2 separate regions of the Homo sapiens genome follow, and region 1 is linked to region 2. Evidence: promoter capture Hi-C in 16 types of primary human blood cells and fetal thymus (Javierre and others, 2016). All regions are on one chromosome and are shown on one strand. Each heading gives the region's core, a stretch centred on a gene start or on the middle of the fragment in contact. The rest is flanking DNA. Distances are from core to core; before and after follow the strand shown.

Region 1 (5,061 bases), core at 2,051-4,550, 300 kb after region 2:
GTGTGTGTGTGTGTGTGTGTGTGTGTGTGTTTTGAGACAGATTCTTGCTCTTTGCCCAGGCTGGGGTGCAGTGTCGTGATCATCACTCACTGCAGCCTTGAACTCCTAGGCACAAGCGATCCTCCTGCCTCAGCCTCCCAATGTGGGATTATAGGCGTGAGCCACTGTGCCCAGATTGGGTGATGTTTGAAACCTATTATTGCACATGAGATTTGTTGTTTGTGCTACTTAATATGAGTTTGCAATAGTTACCTTTACCATTTTCACATTGGTTCCTGTAACACTCTCCACAAAAGACTAATGTATTTTCCACGTTCACTGAGCGCTTTCTGTGGATACACTGACTTTAGTCCCTATTTTTTCTCCAGGGTCATCTAGTAGCAGGCACCCAAATCAGGCAACTCCCAAGAAAAGTGGTTTAAAGAATGGCCAGATGAAGAATAAAGATGACGAGTGCTTCGGGGATGATATTGAGGAGATCCCAGACACAGATTTTGATTTTGAAGGGAACCTGGCTCTTTTTGACAAGGCAGCTGTGTTTGAGGAGATTGATACCTATGAAAGGAGAAGTGGTACCCGTTCCCGGGGCATCCCAAATGAAAGGCCCACTCGGTACCGCCATGATGAGAACATCTTGGAGTCCGAGCCCATTGTCTATCGACGGATCATAGTGCCCCACAACGTGAGCAAGGAGTTCTGCACGGGTGAGTTGCATCAGGTCCCACATCCTGCTGGTTGCTGTTGCCTTTCTATTATGCTTGAAACAGAAAGACCTGGCTTCTGAGTCAGAATCTCACACTAGGAATTAATTTAAGTGGCTTGGTGGCTGGCCCGGTATTATTGTCTCTTGGGGATTGCAGCCAATAACAGCATTCTGCCATGGTGGAGGGGTAATTTCTGTAGATGTCTGTGTATATCCTGTATCTGGTAGGATATGGCCTGCCACTTATTTAGTATGCTGTGAGTAACAACTAAAGGCAAAGGGCCTGCTATGTAGATTCAAATATTCAGATCTATTTTCACTTTGGCTTCTCTATTACTGCCCATACATTTCACCAGACTTCAACTCTGTTTTACTAATTATTTGTTGTTGCAAAAAAACAGTTGAAGATGGATGATTGGAATCATTGGCTAAAAATAGAGTTTTAATAAATTACATTTCTTTACTATGCTGTTCTTATCTCCTGTTAGCCCAGGACATTGAAAGTTGGCTAATTTCATGTAACAGTGTAGTGCCTTATGTAGGTCATTGTAGATGATAATCTAGTTCTATTACCTCAGTGATTATTGTTTCTTTTTTTAGCATTAGAACCTTTTCTTCAAACCTATGGCATATAAAACAGATTAAAGCAGTGTGAGAGAGGTAATTCATCACATCCGTGTCCCATCCCTTCCCCTCAAACCACATTACTAACTGGGCCTCTTGGAATATGGTTTGAAAACCATTGTTATTGAATGATCCTAAGAGCTAAAGGGGAAGTCATAATCATTTTAGTAAGTAGAGAAGGAATTGAGTATAATATTTTTATTTTGGTTTGAAGTTTGGAATATAAGGAATATAAATCTTGAATGCTGGTAGCTGCTATAAGGAGAACTGTGGACGCAGCTAATTGCATTTGGAGGAAAGCCAGACATGGCTTTTTTTTTATAGATAATAGTAGGACTCTGTTGTATTTGGTTTCGCTGAGTATAGTAGCTTGCATGTGCTTTCCATGTGAAAAAAAAAAATAGGCCAACTGTCAGGCTAAGAAAGACTGCTAAAAAAAAAACAAGCTGCTGAACTGTGTCAGTCTTTTGCTGGCAGATTCTGGTAGGCATGCCTGTTTATTAAGGTGGTTTCCTTAAGTGGCAGTGACAGTGACACTGTAACTTGCCGAAGTCCTTCGATTTTTAACACCTGTGTAAAGGCAAACAGCCTAGCTCAGAATCGGGTTTAATTTAAATTGCTAGGTTTTAAGCCTTTCAAAGGCAGTTATCATCTGTTAAGTCTGGTACTCCTCCAGATCAGCCAACTATCTACCTCTGACTGCTTCCTTTTTTACTGCCCTCTTTGTAAAAGAAGCTGCTCCTGCTGCTAGCTCTCTATATCTGTAGTCCAAGTGCTGCTGCTGAGGCTGTTGGTTTATGCAGCGTGTGATTTCCCTGGAACTATTTACACTGCAGGATTTTTTTTTTTTTTTTTTGAGACGAAGTCTCACTCTGTTGCCCAAGCTGGAGTGCAATGGCGCAATCTCTGCTCACTGCCAACCTCCACCTCCTGGGTTCAAGCGATTCTCCTGCCTCAGCCTCCTGAGTAGCTGGGACTACAGGTACACACCACCATGCCTGGCTAATTTTTTTGTATTTTTAGTAGAGATGGGGTTTCACTATGTTGGCCAGGCTGGTCTTGAACTCCTGACCTCGTGATCCACCTGCTTTGGCCTCCCAAAGCGCTGGGATTACAGGTGTGAGCCACCGCGCCCAGCCCTACACTGCAGGATTTTTTTAACTTGGGAAGATTATGATCTGCCCTGGAGTCAAGTGGCTAAGAGTGAGAATAACAGTGAGAATCAGGGAGAATTCTCAGAACTAACAGAGCATGAGAAAATATTTACTAACATGGACAAAAGCAGAGGTAGAAATTTTTTTCTGCTACACACTCTGGCTCCCCAACTTGATCTTCACACTTCTTTTGTTTTTAATGACTGAAGTGAAAAGTTCTGTCATATAAAATTATTTTCCTATCAATAAACATACCACAAACCACATGTGCTGGTCCTTAGCCAGAAACTTGGGTGTGGCGTCTTGTGGTATGTAGTGACCAGTTGCACTCCACTGGTTCATGACAATGAGGGGGAAAGAAGCCCAGCAGCTTCATGCCATCTGGTTTTTCTCTTTGTTCTTAACAGTGACAAGGAGTGGAAAGGAAGCCCTTTTGCCAAGCAGCGTCTGTGCTGGAAATAGAGCAAGCAGGCAGTTATCTTACTGAGCAACTTCTTCTACAGGGGGGTTTTCTCTGTGTTCGAGTTCCAAGGCACAATCCTCAAGCAGGTTTTCACTGAGGGGCAGTCAGTGCAGAGCTGGGGACACTTTCTCCATTGGATCTGCTATCCAAATGTTTGGATCAAAAAAGGCAAACTAGAATATATAGGGAAACAGTCTAAAAGCATAAAATGTTAGTGTTAGGTTAGTTGATCACCTAGTATGATTTTTTCATTTTACAGATGAGGACATGAGGCCCAGAGAGGTAAAGGTTTTTTTTTTTTTTTTGGAGACAGAGTCTTGTTTTGTCATCCAGGCTGCAGTGCAGTGGCGTGATCTCAGCTCTCAGCGCACCGCAACCTCTACCTCCCAGGTTCAAGCGATTCTCCTGCCTCAGCCTCCTGAGTAGCTGGGATTACAGGCACCTGCCACCATGCCTGGCTAATTTTTGTATGTTTAGTAGAGACGAGGTTTCACCGTGTTGGCCAGGCTGGTCTCAAACTCCTGGCCTCAAGTGATCTGCCTGCCTTGGCCTCCCAAAGTGCTGGGATTACAGGCGTCAGCCACCACGCCCAGCTGGTAAAGGGTTTTCCATTGGCCAGGTGCAGTGACTCATGCCTGTAATCCCAGCACTTCGGGAGGCCAAGGTGGGAGGATTGCTTGAACTCAGGAGTTCAAGACCAGCCTGGGCAACAAAGTGAGACCCTGTCTCTACAAACAATAGAAAACATTAGCTGGGCACGGTGGCATGTGCCTGTAGTCCCAGCTACTCAGGAGGCTGAAGTAGGAGCGTCTGAGCCCATGAGGTTGCGGCTGCAATGAGCCAAAGTCATGCCACTGTACTCCAGCCTGGGTGACAGAGTCAGACCCTGTCTCAAAAAAAAAACACAAAAACCTTACCCATCACATCTCCTTTTCTCTTCTAAATGTGAATAAAAATGAGGAAAAGGCCAGGCGCAGTGGCTCATGCCTGTAATCCCAGCACTTTGGGGGGCTGAGGCGTGTGGATCACGAGGTCAGGAGATGGAGACCATCCTGGCTAACACGGTGAAACCCCGTCTCTACTAAAAATACAAAAAAATGAGCCGGGCATGGTGGTGGGCGCCTGTAGTCCCAGCTACTTGGGAGGCTGAGGCGGGAGAATGGCGTGAACCTGGGAGGCGGAGCTTGCAGTGAGCGGAGATCGCAGCACTGCACTCCAGCCTGGGTGACAGAGCGAGACTCTGTCTCAAAAAAAAAAAAAAGGAAAAATATAAGAAGAGAAGGGCAGTTTAATGGCAAATAGACTACAGATGATCCTCCAACTTACAATGGTTAGACTTATCATTTTTTGATTCTAGGATGATGTGAAAGCAATAGTCAGTAGAAACTGTAGTTGAAATTATTAATTTAGATCTTTTCCTGAGCTAGCGATATGCAGGTATGATATTCTCTAATGCTGGGCAGCAGCAGGAGTCAAAGCAGTCAGCCGTGCAGTCATGAGAGTAAACAACCAGTATTCTACAGTGTACTGTTTTGCCAGATGATTTTGCCCAACTGTAGGCTAGTGTAAGTGTTCTGAGCAGGTTTAAGGTAGGCTAGGCTGAACTATGATGTTTGTTTGGTAGGTTAGGTGTATTAAATGCATTTTCAACTTAGATATTTTCAATTTATGATGGGTTTATTGGGATAACACTCATTGTAAGTTGAGGGACATCTCTGTAGTCTTTTCTTTAGTACTGCAGTCTCTCAGGAATGGACCAGCAGTTTACAGAAGTAACTTGGAGAGCTCCCGCAGTCTGGCCTTGTGGCATTCATGTCCTAGAATACCAAGTACTTTTGTACTAATCCCCATGGTAGCAAAAGAACAACATATTTATTACCCATTTGGTGATGGCTTGGGATTTAGGATTCTGACAGCTTGCTGCTGGTGCCCTATATATTGACTTCATGCTAAGTGGTGTCAACCAACAGTACATAAGCTATTATTCACTAATTGCTCATACTCCTCTTGGCAGTACTCTTTGCCAGCTGTGTGTGTTGTGATGGGGAACAGTGTTGTTTTAGGTCTATTGATTGGGAAAACACATTCAGGAAGCAACTAAATTTAGCTCTTTGTTT
Region 2 (4,668 bases), core at 1,838-4,337:
CACTGACTCCACTTTTCTAACCATTGTGTGGTGTGCACCACTGATGCTCTACTTTAAAATTTACCAGCCTTTCTGAAGTTGAGCCCTGTGCTCCCCTCCTCTGACTCTGGCCCCACCCTGGGGTTCCCACCCTCTTCTCAGCTTTTTCTCCCTTCGCCCTGTCCCCTACGCTGTTTCCCCCCTCATACAGCCCCTTTCCCTGTGTCCTCACTACTTCATGCCCCAATTCCTTCCTGCCTCTCGCGTTTCTCCTCTCTCCTCGCCACCCCGCCCCGTCCTTCACCGCCCACCCTGTTTTCCCCGCTCGCTGCCCGCTCTCTCCCACTCCAGCTTCCTCCAGGCCTGCCACATTACCCTAATTCACAGCACCCCATCCTTCCTCCCTCACTCCCCGCATCTCCCGCCCCCACCCCCTACACCCCTTCACGGCTAGGAGGGAGCGCACAGCCGGCGGGCTGCGACGCGCGCTGACAGTGTAATGAATGGCTTCAGCTGTAATTAGCGACCCCGCGGCTAATCACGATGTACATTTACATTTTAAGTGCTGCAGAGGGAGCGCGGGAAGGGGAGGGGACCGGCAGGAGGGAATGCGGCCCTTTTCGGCGTTCTCCCTTCACCGACTGTGGAGAGCAGTGAATGCGAGTCTTCTACATCCGACAGCAGTTTAGGAGGTTGGGGACGGCTGGGTCCTCGAGGGCCAACCTGGCCGGACGCAGAACCGCCCCGTCCTCGCCCTACACAAACCTGAAGCTCCCAGGACCCTTTCTCCAAATGACAGAACTCCGCCCAATCCCTTCCAAGTGATCGTGCAGCCCAAACTTGCATACTCCCGGGGACGGAGAGCTCGCTCCTTCCACAACCAGCCCGTTCCAACGTAACTTCCAGCCTTTCGGGGGCTTTTTCTCAGGGCCTGACCTTACACAGCCCTCGGTTCTCCACGCCCCGCTACGCGCTGCGGACAGTCTTTGTTTCTTCCCAAGGCTGCTGTGCCTCCAGCCCCCACCGCTGTGTGGGGCCCATGGAGACTGGACCGAGACCGAAGTCCCGGTTCGGAGCATACCCCGAGGGTTCCTGATCCCACCAGGAGACGGGGAGGGGGTCAGCCATTCACACATTGCGGTGCCAAGGTCCAGTCGCCGCAGCCACTCCCAGGAAGTGGTAAGAGGGTAAATCCCGGTTCTGAACAGCAGGGACCGAGGGCCGCTCCCAAGAAGTGACAAGGAAGTAAACCCTGGTTTTGAACAGCAGGGACTGAGAGCTGCTGCAGATGCCCAGAGGGCGAGAACAGCGGGAGGAGGGAGAACAGCATCTGGCAGCCCCATCTCCAACTGAGGCCCAGCAATCCAAGGCACTGTCATGCCCCCAGCACTTTCCCGGTGGCCCGCCCGCCCCAGCTCTCTGTGTCCCTCCCCGCCACGCCCCGTCACAGTCCCCTGGCTAGGACCAGATCTGCCGCCCTCTCTCAGTCCTGACTGCGTAGGGCGGGTGGAAGGAGGACGGGGGAATCCCGAGAGCAGTTTTAGGGAGGGTCGGGCCCCTTCTCAGACCCCCTCCCTTCCATCAGTAGTCCTGACAGCCCCCAATCTCATCTTTCTCTAATGCTTCTCTCACCCGGCAGGAGACCCCGGGCCTCTCTTTCGGTCCCGTGGAGTTTCCGCCGGAGAGGCATCCAGTAGTTCCATAATGCCCCCAGGGCTTCAACTCCCCATCTTCCTCCCTTCTTTCTCTCTTTTATTTTTTTTTAAGTCTTTTTAATTTTTGTGGGTATACAATAGGTGTCTATATTTAGAGGGTACATGAGACGTTTTGATACAGGCATGCAATGCATAATAATCACATCCTGGAGAATGGGGTATCCCTCCCTTCTCTTTTGTATTTTATTTAATTAATTAATTTATTCATTTTTCGAGACAGAGCTTTGCTCTGTCGCCCCGGCTGGAGTGCAGTGGCATGATCTCGGCTCACTGCAGCCTTCAGCTCCCGGGTTCAAGCGCTTGTCCTGCCTCAGCCTCCCGAGCAGCTAGGATTACAGGAGCGTGCCACAACGCCGAGCTGATTTTTGTACGTTTAATGGAGACGGGGTTTCACCATGTTGACCAGGCTGGTCTCGAACTCCTGACGTCAAGTAATCCGCCCACCTCTGCCTCCCAAAGTGCTGGGATTAAAAGCGTGAGACACCGCGCCCGGCCCCTCCCTTCTCTTTTTTAAAACCTGCGTTCACCTAGCCTCCTTTCGAAAAGGACCCCACTGGATCTCAAGGGGCCAATGTTGCCTGAGCGAATTCCGCCTGGGAGGAAGGGGGCGGCCACGTTGGCAAGGCATCGTGCCTGGCTCACCCTAAAGCGCGCAGCTCTAAGGGTGGGCTCTAGGGCCTGGGTGGAGCGAGCCTACCGCCTTTTCAGAAGAGGTCACGCCCGCTTCCCCACGCGCCTCGGGGAACAGCCTGGCCCAAAGCCTCACTCCTCACGTCCCAGGGGTGGACGGGGGTCCGGGAGCCTCGAGCTCCGGGCAGGCGTGGCGAGGCTGAAGTCTGGGTCTTCCGCGCCCCGCGAGGACCACGCCGCGACGTAATCGCCCGCGGGGAGGCGCGGAGTGGAGCCGCAGCCAGCTCCTCCCGCACTCTGCTGACCGCGCACTAGCTGTCCTTGAGGCAAGAATACTTGGGAGCGGAAAAAAGGTGGGGGTGTTCCCCGGGGCGGGGGAGGAGGGGCAAGGCCCCAGCAAGCCTCTTGGAAATCTCTCCCTGGGAGGGGACGAGGGGCGGCCTTCAGTTGCAAATGGGAAGGGCTCGGATACCGGATTTGAAGCAGTGTTTGCACGGCAAGCGCAGCTTTTATTTAGACTGCCGGTTTGTGAGGGTTGGCTCTCAGAGCGCTGATGGCGATTATAGTGGAACTTCACCTTCACCTGCTCATGCGCCCCGCAGCGCGCCCGCTCCCACGCCCGCGTAGCTGAGGACCCAGACTCGCCAGGAAAGGCTAGTGAGGCTGGGGCCCGGGCGGGCCCGGCCGGGCCGGGTCAGGGGAGGGGCCTGGCGGCAGGGGCGGGGCCTCAGCTAAAGGCGCGGAGCACCCGGCGCCGAGAGCGCTGAGTAGAGCGGCGCCCGCTCGAGAGAAGTGGGGCCGAGATCGCGCCGTCCCAGCCCGCCCGCCGGCGTCTGCGCTGCTCCGGCGCCCTTACCCCTGCTGGCCCTTGCAAGGCGCGACCGGCGGCCATGCAGCCCCGGGGCTGAGGCCGCCCCATGGCAAAGCCGGCGGTCCCGGCGACGACGGCGCATGGAGAACTTCCGTAAGGTGCGCTCCGAAGAGGCGCCAGCGGGGTGCGGGGCCGAGGGAGGCGGCCCGGGCTCCGGCCCCTTCGCAGACCTGGCGCCGGGCGCGGTGCACATGCGGGTCAAGGAAGGCAGCAAGATCCGGAACCTGATGGCCTTCGCCACCGCCAGCATGGCGCAGCCAGCCACGCGCGCCATCGTCTTCAGCGGCTGCGGCCGGGCCACCACCAAAACCGTCACGTGCGCCGAGATCCTCAAGCGCCGCCTGGCGGGCCTGCACCAGGTCACGCGGCTGCGCTACCGGAGCGTACGCGAGGTGTGGCAGAGCCTCCCGCCTGGGCCCACGCAGGGTCAGACGCCTGGCGAGCCGGCCGCTAGTCTCAGCGTACTTAAGAACGTGCCCGGCCTCGCCATCCTACTTTCCAAGGACGCGCTGGATCCGCGACAGCCCGGCTACCAGCCCCCGAATCCCCATCCTGGTCCCTCGTCCCCGCCAGCCGCGCCAGCGTCCAAGAGGAGCCTAGGGGAACCCGCAGCTGGAGAAGGCTCCGCGAAGCGATCGCAACCCGAGCCAGGGGTTGCGGACGAGGATCAGACGGCCTGAAACTCCGGACTGTGGGCCACCTAGTCCGGCAGGATCTTCCGCCAGCGCCTCCACCTTCAGATGTACCTCCAGCCTTTCACTCCTCGGTCCTCCGGAGCCCACAACCTGGACACAGCTCCTCAAGACAGGTAGCATGGACCTTAAGGCGACAAGAGAGGGGCCCCAGGAGTGGCAGGAGAGGATCCCCGACCACCCTAGGGAAACTTCGTGCGATAATTGCTGCTTATGCCCGTGTTGCGTGAAGACACGGAACTTCACCTTTTCTGGGACCTTCTTTGGGGGAGAATGGTGGACAGTGGGATTCTGGAAACTTGTTTGGGACCCCCAAGGGTTAAAGCCACCCAGCATTCACGAAGAGCACCTGAAGTATGGAAGCTGAGAAGAGTTATTGGAATCACCCCCACCGTTGACAGAGGAAGGCAGGGGGTGAGAATTAACTGCTTGAGGGTAGGAGAGTCTGAGATGTGGGGGCCCTATTCCGCTCCCCGCCCTGGGACAGTTTTCCTTTCTAGTTTTCTTTCCCCTGCTTCAGAGGAGCATCTCTGAGGGTTCTAGCTCTTTTAACACCCCTTTTCCCCCTGCTGGCCCAGAGGGAGACCCAGGACTGAACTCTCCAGGCCTCCTCCCCTGAGCCCTGCAGCTGGCTGGAGTCTTGCTTCCAATAAAACAAGCACAAAAATGGCTGTGTCCCCCATTTTTTTTCTAACCACCCGCCTGTGCAGAGACAGCTCTCGCCTGGCCCCTTGTGTCTCCCCTCCCCTCCAGCCTTGCGTCCTGAGTCTTTGGAGTCTTC

What was found. Contacts are between HindIII fragments. The CHiCAGO score rates a contact against its expected background, and 5 or more counts as called.
Region 1: a contact is called between a fragment that was not itself captured here and the fragment with the promoter of RPP25 in region 2, in 1 of 17 cell types (total CD8 T cells). The highest score is 6.0, in total CD8 T cells.

What each region holds. Positions count from the first base shown.
Region 1 is chr15:74,651,376-74,656,436 of GRCh38, reverse strand. It overlaps EDC3 (enhancer of mRNA decapping 3), which reads left to right. Exons shown (of 7, transcript NM_025083.5): 4 at 369-704. Among named protein-coding and RNA genes, the nearest start is that of CLK3, 38 kb to the right of the region's middle. The HindIII fragment of the contact is 9,021 bases long and covers 1-5,061 here.
Region 2 is chr15:74,955,191-74,959,858 of GRCh38, reverse strand. It overlaps RPP25 (ribonuclease P/MRP subunit p25), which reads left to right and starts at 3,087. Exons shown (of 1, transcript NM_017793.3): 1 at 3,087-4,668. The coding sequence starts at 3,276. The coding sequence ends at 3,875. RefSeq lists enhancers at 919-1,475, 2,470-3,403, 3,404-4,337, 4,338-4,668 and a silencer at 2,795-3,444. The HindIII fragment of the contact is 5,452 bases long and covers 1-4,668 here.